Linked DNA regions of Homo sapiens: region 2 is linked to region 1. Evidence: promoter capture Hi-C in human tissues and cell types (Jung and others, 2019). All regions are on one chromosome and are shown on one strand. Each heading gives the region's core, a stretch centred on a gene start or on the middle of the fragment in contact. The rest is flanking DNA. Distances are from core to core; before and after follow the strand shown. Region 1 holds the start of POPDC3 (popeye domain cAMP effector 3). Region 2 has its middle 5.1 kb from the start of LIN28B.

Region 1 (4,569 bases), core at 1,470-3,969:
ATGAAATCCTGGACTAGAAATAACTCAAAGTGTGGGGTTTTTTTTTCAGATTCACACTTAAATTTTTTTCTGATAATTTTGAACACATACAAAAATAGAGAAAATAGTATACAACAAATTCCCATATACCTGTTACCCAGATTCAACAATTATCAAGATTTTGCCACACAGAATTTTGAAATTAAAAGCAAAAGCTGTTATCTACAGTTCAGCTGCAATTTGTTCAGCTAGGAAACAAACACCTTCCAAAGAAGACAGGAAGAACCAAGATCAGCTGTGCTCTTTCTCTGTGCAGGTACTAATTCCTAAAACAGATCCATTTAGGAGTCACAGCAACTCTGAAACCTACATACTATTGTCAGCATTGTTCAGAGTGGAAGATGAAGCTCAGAGGGATGGAGATTCTTCTGTAAGCTTAGCCAGTTGCTTGTCCTTCCAATACTACCCCACAACACCTTCCTTCATGATCCCATCCTAGCCAATTTCAGTGTGCCAGAGTCACTGGAGGTTATTATTCTGTTGAAGAACACAAAGTAAGAAAGTCTCGCTAAAAGTCTGTGTGAATCAATCCCTGGATTCTCTGGGTTGGAGGAGGACCCTGCATTTTTATAGGTAATTTCAGTCAGGAACTTTCGGTTATTTATTTAATTTAGAAAACACCTGATGTAATTTTCCTTGTAAGACTTTTTCTTATAACTACTTAGATAAAAGGGAGAAACATTTTCTCTCTTCCTTTAAAACAATCGAATCGGTGATTCGATATACTCTTCTATTAATTGGAGGGACATTCTCTCGAGGGAGCTCATAATCCCAACTGACCAATGACCATAATTACAAAATGTGATCTCAACTGCAGTTTACAGACTTTCAGATCTATCATGGATATTTCCAAAGCAGTTTTGAAATTTCTTGCCTGCCATGTTGCTTATGTGTTATGCTCACATACTGTAGCAAATGCTTCATAACATTCTTAATTCTTCCTGGAGACTGTTTCAAAATAAGCAGGCATCAGTGCTCTAGTGTGTCAACCGTATTAGTCAGTCTTGTGGTGAAAAGTATGGGACTTTTGTTTCCCATGACACATTTTTATTTAATAGCATAGAATGTAACCATTTAGAGGCAGAAGATGCACCATGATTCAGCTATTTTGAGGGACTGATATGATTAAAGAAACTCAACTATCAAATATTTCCCATTTAAATGTATAAAATTTTGAGGACAGAGAATATCTTAGATTTCAATTAATATTTGTATCCCAAACTCCTGAAGACACACACACACACACACACACACACACACACACACACACACACACAGATTTTTCAGGACAGAACCTCAGAGATATCTGGAATCTGGGATCAGCCAGAGCTCTTCATTTTGCGAATATGGAAACTGAGATCCAATTTTTTGTTTATATTTTCTGTCTCATGTAGTTCTTGTTTGGTTTTCTATTGTCACAAAGAACAATGCCAAGTTATTGTACTCTCACAAGAGGATATTTTCATGCAACAGTCCGTAGAATTAAAAACAAGAAGGAAAAAAAATAGCCACTAAACTTAGTATGAACAGGCAACAATAATTTTTTAAGGCTGCTATAAAACTCAATTGCAGTTTGTAGGCTTGCAAATTCAAAATATCTAACTACCGGAATTAGAGTGAAAAGTCAGGAAGCAACGAAGTTTAGTAAATCAAATTGCGTCCAAAAGTGGGCTTCTAATTCTACTTTTCCATTTATTATTTACAAACAGAATTTTTCACTTTCTGCAAATGTCTTCTGGCTAAATTTTTGGCACTGCCCCTCTTACTGTATTTTGGTTGTGCCTTTCATCTTTGCCTAAAATACAGACCCTCAAAACTATACCACTGTAACCGACATGGTGATAAGACAATTTAGGGGTTGGCAAATTTCTTTTTTGGCAGGGGGATCCCCAAATGGAGAAAACAGGTCCGCGCGACCTTTGATGAGGCAGCTTTTTTGTACCCCCAACTCTGTGAGAACAGTGTGAGAGCACTGACACCAGTCAGGCCCTTTGCTTACAGACCGGGGGCGGGAGTAGGGGGGAAGGAAACTCCCGGCGCTGGCATGACTTCCCCAGGACTGACAAGGGCCCCTAGGAACGGCTTTTCTCCCTTGCAAAACTGGCCTGTTTATTTCGGCTCCAGGGTGCCTGGGGCCAGAGTAGGACCTGCAGGAAAAGATCTGGGAGGAATATTCGCCCAGAAGCCTCTAGGGCATACGACTCGCGTTCTTCAGGGGTCGGCGCGGATAGGAACCGCAGCAAAGGATCCCCTAGACCTCCGAGCTGTGAGCGGCGACACAGCCGGGACCCCAGACCCCGGACCCCAGGGCGCGGAGTTGACCGGAGCCGGGAAGGGAGCGGCGCGGGCAGCGCGGGGCAGCGAGACGCAAGCGCTCGCAGGGGTCGGCGGCCCAGCAGAAGCCGCGCCCGCTAAGTTGCCCGAAGCGGCCGCGAGGTGCGAGGGTGCGGACAGCACCGGAAGGCGGCGGACGCAGCGCCCCCGGGCTCACCTTCTTACCTTTCCTTCCCAGCCCTGCCCGGAGCTTCAGCCCGGCGCCCGCAGAAGTTTCCCGGCGGAGCGCGCTTGACCCGGGTGGCCCGCGCGGAAGCCCTCAGCGTCCCCCTCGTGAGTGCCTCGCCGCCCACCCTGCGGCGCCGGGCGCAGCGTGACCGCAGCGGGCTCCGGAGCGGCGCGGCGGCGCGGGCGGGTGCCGGGCACGGGCGCGCGCCCCGGGGCGCAGCCGGGTGGGCGGGCGCGGCGGCTGCGTCTGGGCCGGGGCAGGCGGTTCGGCCACCGGGGTGCGGGGCTGCGGAGAATCCTAGCGGCCGCTACGGACCGAAGTTTCCAAAGATGCGGTTCCCCGAGTGTACACCGCTCCCGGTTGTAACATACACCTAGTATTCACAGTCACACTAGGCAGGAGCGATGGGCTGGCTGCTGAACCAAGGCAACTGCACGCCTGCTCTCTCACCCCCGCTCCACACACACCGTAAACAAAATGAAGAGGTAAATCACCATAGTGGGGACGGGAATATTAGGGTGTATTGGACAGAGAGAGAGAGAGAGAGAGGTAAATATAGTATTTTTTTTTTTTTTAGAGATGGTGTCTCGCTCTGTCACCCAGGCTGGAGTGCAGTGGTGATCACGGCTCACTGCAATCTCGACCTCCTGGGCCCAGGCATCCTCCTGACTCAGCCTCCTAAAGCTTAGGATTGCAGATGTGAGCCACCGCACCCAACCAATAAATACGGACTGTTGCATGAAAAATAAAATATCTATATTCAAATCAATGAACATCTCTAAAAGCAAATGAGTAAAGGGCATAGACAATCATAAAAGGAAAAAATTTAAAAACACAAATGACAAAAAGCTCATATCAGTAATAACCAAATGCATACAATTTTAAAGCAATGATCAGGTGCATTTTTTCTTCCTTTGCAATTAGCAAAGTTTTGTTTTGTTTTTGTGATGAAACAAATGTGAGGGTTGGTGACGACCAGTAAAACACGCCACTAATTTAAGAATGTCATCTCCTGTCTTCTAGTTCGCTTTCATTTTATATAACCATATTGATAACAGCGACTCCAGGAACAAGAATTTATTGAGCAATCAGTGTCTTTTTTGAGCCCCAGGGTAACCACAAAAACAGTGAATATAGATGGTAAAATTAACTCCCTTTAATTGATGCTGGAACTGAGGATCAAGAAATACACATATTCTTACACCCCAGAAATGGCTAGAAACCAGTTGACTCCTAGGCCTTTGCTCTTTCTCTTCATTGCAGGGATTTACTCAAATGTTGGAAATCCAGTTTGAACTGGATGTAGTCCATAGTGTGTGTGTGTGTGTGTGTGTGTGTGTGTGTGTGTGTATATATATGTATATATATATATATACACACACACACACCTTTAAACTATGGCCAGGGAAGTGAGAAGCCCATGAACTTTGAGGTCAGATGTACTCTGGATTTAGATTTTACTTGTTTAGTGTCCTACATTTTAAAAATTTAAGGATTATATTACTGTTATTTTTAATTTAAAAACTCAGAAGCTGTTACTGTTGCCCTGGATTCTTATGATCTCCCATGATAGAGATTAACAGAGATCACCAAACATAGCAGCAAAGGAAAGTGTATTCAGCTTGTGCGCAAGGGAGTCAGCACCAAGAAAGGCAAAGGAACGGACTGCTCTGAGGATAGTGTGTGGGTCAGTTTTATAGGGTCTTTCTATAGGGGAGGGTTACATCAGGGCACCTATAGGAGGAGTTTTTCTAGTGCTTGCACAGTGGCCCAATATGCTTTTTCATACATCATATGTAGCATTAGCATTTTAAATCTCCACCCCAGGAGTAATTTTTAGCATTAAAGTGAGGAAGGGGTAAATGTAGGTTGGAGTTTAAGTCTAACTGTACAGGCGGGGATCTGGGGAAGTCCCTAGCCCTCTGAAATAGGAGCTTGCAGTTAACAGCTTCTTGGGTGTTTTGTTACCTATTGACTGAGAGTTAGATAAGCTAGAGCTTGAGTAAGGAGCTTTTATCCTTTTTCAC
Region 2 (4,569 bases), core at 1,052-3,551, 230 kb before region 1:
GGATAAAAACAATAATTTAGTAGTCACCAGGAGTTCCTCTTCCAATCACTATACTTGATTACTGTGTGGCCTCTTTATTGCAAGTTTTATTGTGTTGTGGCATCTGCCAATGGATGTATTAGAAACATCAATATTTACTCATATTTAAAAAATGAGAACTGTTTGCTTTTTAAAAAACATTAACCCATTTAAAAATATAAGTTAAAATGCATATTAGATATTTAAAAATATACTTAATGATTAAATGTATTACCATTAATGTAATTTTTCATTCACTTGACTGCAACAGCCCCAATATCTATTTTATAGTACCATCGTTAGATTCTCATGATTTATCTTCTGAAATATATCTGAAGAGAATAGTCAAAGAAGTTAGTTCTTCAAGAAACATGATATTCTAGGTTAAGTAGATTTTAACTGTGCTTGGAAAAAATACTAGTATTTTAAAATTACAGTGTAAAATTAAATATTAAAATTTAAACTGCATTGTTCGTGATATTGGGATCTTTTGACTGCATCTTAATGGTCTTAAATGTTGTAAATGTTCTTTAAACTAGTGTCCTCTACTAGATATAAAAGGCAAGTATATGCCAATTGGTTATCTAATTTTGCTAGGTGAGTCTTAAACTGTAAAAAAAAGTTTACAGGTCTCTTCACAGAGTCAAAACCTGGGCATTTTATTGCTTTCTAATGGCCATTAGGATGAAGAAGAGGCAATTAAATAGGCAATTAATGTAGTACTGACTTGAGCTCTCTGATTTTAGGTTCTTCAGAAGAGGATGAGGTCATTCAACCAGGTTTCATCAGCCCCAGGTTAGTCTTTTTTTTTTTTTTTAAATATTTTGTTTAATTAATGTTTTAAAAGATCAAGATCGCTAGAGGCATATGAGAACCTGACAGCCCTCAGGAATTCTCCATCCTTTCTACTTTGGCAAGACAGGTACCAAGTCCTCCTATACTTCGTCCTGATCACTCCATCTAAAAAACTGGTGTTCCCATAAGAATTACGTGGACAACCTCTTCTAATTAACCCCTTTCCCCCCACCCCCACTTTTAGCAGTATTGTATTTTGTGATTCCTTTTTCTGTAACTCAAGCAGCATAGATAACAGATATTTAAATGCTTATGGAGATGAATGAAAAGTATTCATGGTTTGTTCATTTTTGTAACTCCCAAAGTAAAATATGCACTAACGAATATCTGCTGAACTAAATTAAAAATGGAGACATGGTGCTGTTTTAAAATAATTTATCATAACAGAAATAGCACAATATATTAGACATTTTGAGGAAATTTTTCTTATCTAGGAAGCTCTGTGTTGCTTTTCATAAACATATATCAGAATTTGCTCCTCGTTTTCATATGACAAAGCTGAGTCATTTGAACTTTAATATTTTAAACCCAGACTTTTGACATGCTTTCTTATATTATTAAAATTAACTTAAAAGTTATAGCACCATTTTTTAGTAACAATCTTATTTGATGATAATTTATTACTCTGGCTTGACCATACCACTTTGAAGGCACACATAGGAGCTGTGATATTGCAAAGTATATGAATATTAATAATAACTACAAGTAAAATGATGTTATTCTGTTATTAAACTTTTCAAATATAGGATTGTGAGTAGCAAGAGGAAAGCAGTAAGGATCAAAAAGTTGGATGAGGAAACCATGATAGGATTTCCATTTGAGAAACTGCTTTTTTTTTGGAGTGAATCTTGACATAGGGGTGATACTCTAATATCATGAAAAAGAAGATTCTCAAAAGTTGGTACAAATGTTTTAGTATACCACCTAGTTTCCTCTTATTATTGTTTTCATTTATTAATTTTTTATTTTTTTCCCCTTATTATCGACTGTGGTTTTCTGTTGGGGCCAGTTCAGAGACCTTTTTCTTTTCTGTTGGGAAATAATGTTAACACCAATGTGTTAAGTGACTGCAATAAAGTTTCATGTCTGTATTTCCTTGTGATTAAAAAGGATCGGAGGGGAAAGGTACAACTTTCACCAGAAGAATGGTTATTTCTAGAGATTACATTTCAAGTTAAAAGACTTTGAATATTTGCTGGTCCAGTTTCCTCACTTTACAGATGAAGAAACTGAGTTCCAGAGAAGTTTAGTGATTAGCCCAAGGCCACAGATTGGTAAATAGGACCAGAATTGGTAAATAGGACCAGAATTCTGGCCTCCATTTTCTAGCTGGGCTTTTTCTCCACAGATTTGCTTCTCACACATGCTGATTTGCTTCAGGCATCTTTAAAGCCTGAAGATTTCTTTTAACTTGTCTCATCTTTTACCCTGCCACTCTTCTTTCCTTTTTCATTTCTGATATACTTGCCCTCTCCCCTCAAATAAACCCAAAGGGTAAATATTGAAATAAATACCTGGGAGACAGTCCACATTCTTATTTCAGTTGATTATTTCTTTTGATGAAATAGAGCTTTAAAGAATACTTTTATTCATTGCTTGAGGGAGGAAGAAAGAATAGTATATTAACATTATTTAGTGTTTGCTCCACAGACTCATGGTATTTATTGCAAAAAGACCTTTAAATTAGGAAACATACATGTTCAAGTAGTACAGTTGAAAAATACTTTCATTTTGCAGCTAAAACATGAAGCTTCCTTTTGTGCCATTCTGGGCAAAGTAATGTAAAACTTAGTACTAAATGATTTTTCTAGCCTGTTACTATTCTAATTAAAGTAATTTAAGAAAGTATTTGTTGAGCACAGTTTGGAAAATATTTTTCCTGCTTATTGGGAGAGAAGTATGTTAATGTAATAGGATTTTTGCTATTCCAGGTTTTTAAAAAGATACTTTCTACAGCTATTATGTATAATTTTTAAAAAAAGTTAAAAAATTCTTTCTTCAGAATGTTAGTCTTAAAATAATGCTCCTTTTCTGAATTTTGTTGTAAATATTTTGCTGAAACATAACTGACCAAAAAGAAGGAAGCATTTGCAAATTTTGAAATGTAAAGGGAAATTTTGAAATATAAAGGCAAATTTTGAAATATAAAGGCAATTTGTGTGGAAAACTTAAAATTTATGCTAATCCGTTTCTGTATTTCCATAATTTTACTTTATTATTCTGGGGAAAGTGTGTTAAGGTATTTAATGAAAGTCTCGAGAGATTTTTACCTCTGTATAAAAATTCTAACGTTGGACCAATTGTGTGAAGCCAGAGCATTTTGCCTCCAGACAAGGAAATTAAATGAGAATAGAATTTTGCTTTTTGGAAACAAAAGCAAAGCGACCCAACTATATTCTGAAGTGCCTCTGCTGCAAGACCCAAGCACCCAGTCGGGCGCGCCTTGCATTTGTCTCCATGTCGTAGGAATGTCAAGAAAGTTACCGCCAAGTGGTTTACCAAAACGCGGCGGAAGGAATCAGGACAGTTTGCCCGACGGGCGGGTCGGCGGCTTTCAGGCGGGAGAGATCTTGCCAGGGGCAGAGAGAGATCCCGAAAATCGCCCCCAGCCTTGCGTCCAGCCCTTTCTCGCCGACGTTTTTTCTTGATCCTCCGAAGGCCCAGGGCGACGTTTGCCATCGCGGCTTCCCGAAAGGACGGCGCCGGGTTTGCTGGAAGACAGCTCAGTTTTAGGCATGGCCCGGTGGGGGTGGGGGTGCTCATTTTCTTGGGTTCGGATTCCCTCTCTTTGACCGCACTTATCTTAGCTTTAGGAGATTCTGGCATCTCATAGGAAAAGGGATCAAATTATAAGTGATATACGTCTGGAAATTCAGTAAAAATAGTAGGTTGTGCGTAGTGTTTTTGCCATAGTAGTGAAGGCAGGGATTTCTTTTGTTTGGTGTTCTTGGGGACAAGATGACAAATGTAAAAGTCCCTAAATTAGTGAGAAATCACCAGCCTTTGGATCTACCCCACTTAGGGAGAGGAGATGGTAAAGTGACGAATAAAGGGAAAAGTGACTGAGGAAAGAAAGGTGAGAGGAAGCTGCAGAGGCAGGAGGTGGAGGGAAAGCGCAGATCTGCTGGCGCGGGGTCTGGGGTCTCAGGTCTCGGCCGCCTGGGGAGCGACCTGCCTGGAGAGGCGGGTTGCGATGGCAGCGCTGGGCTACAGACCCCGCCTTATTTGCGGGGAGGAGAGGACGGGTGGAGTCACTTGCCGCATTGCCACAGCCCCTCCTCCTAGTTTTAAGAAGAACCGAAGCATTGTTTCTGCTTTAACAGAAGTCACTCATTCCTTATAATTGAAAACAACGACGGTGGGCTCTGGCACCTCTTTCGGCTCCTTGTACTGTTGGAAAAAAAGTCTGGGAAAACGTGTACCTTGTTTTTTAAATGGGGATGATTGTGATAGCCAACAGGCATATGGTAGGTTATTTCCTTGCTTTTTCCCCCCAGTACATTGACGATTCTTTGTAGCTACTTGAACTCATTTTAAAGACATTTTGAAAGAACTATAAGTCAAGCTATAAAGTATTTGGCTTTTGCAGGAATAAAACACCCCTTTTGAGTCAAACACAGGTCTTTCAGGCACTAAAACCAAGTAGGAAATGAGAAAAAAATTAAAACCAGAAGACTTCAGGAAAGTGACAAATTG

Evidence for each region. Contacts are between HindIII fragments. The study calls those that stand out against the background at their distance.
Region 2: a fragment that was not itself captured here is called in contact with the fragment with the promoter of POPDC3 in region 1 in 1 of the 25 tissues and cell types used here (H1 embryonic stem cells).

The regions. Positions count from the first base shown.
Region 1 is chr6:105,177,295-105,181,863 of GRCh38, forward strand. It overlaps POPDC3 (popeye domain cAMP effector 3), which reads right to left and starts at 2,720. Exons shown (of 4, transcript NM_022361.5): 1 at 2,539-2,720. The HindIII fragment of the contact is 10,229 bases long and covers 1-4,569 here.
Region 2 is chr6:104,949,697-104,954,265 of GRCh38, forward strand. It overlaps a transcript of LIN28B not described here. Among named protein-coding and RNA genes, the nearest start is that of LIN28B, 5.1 kb to the right of the region's middle. The HindIII fragment of the contact is 5,482 bases long and covers 1-4,569 here.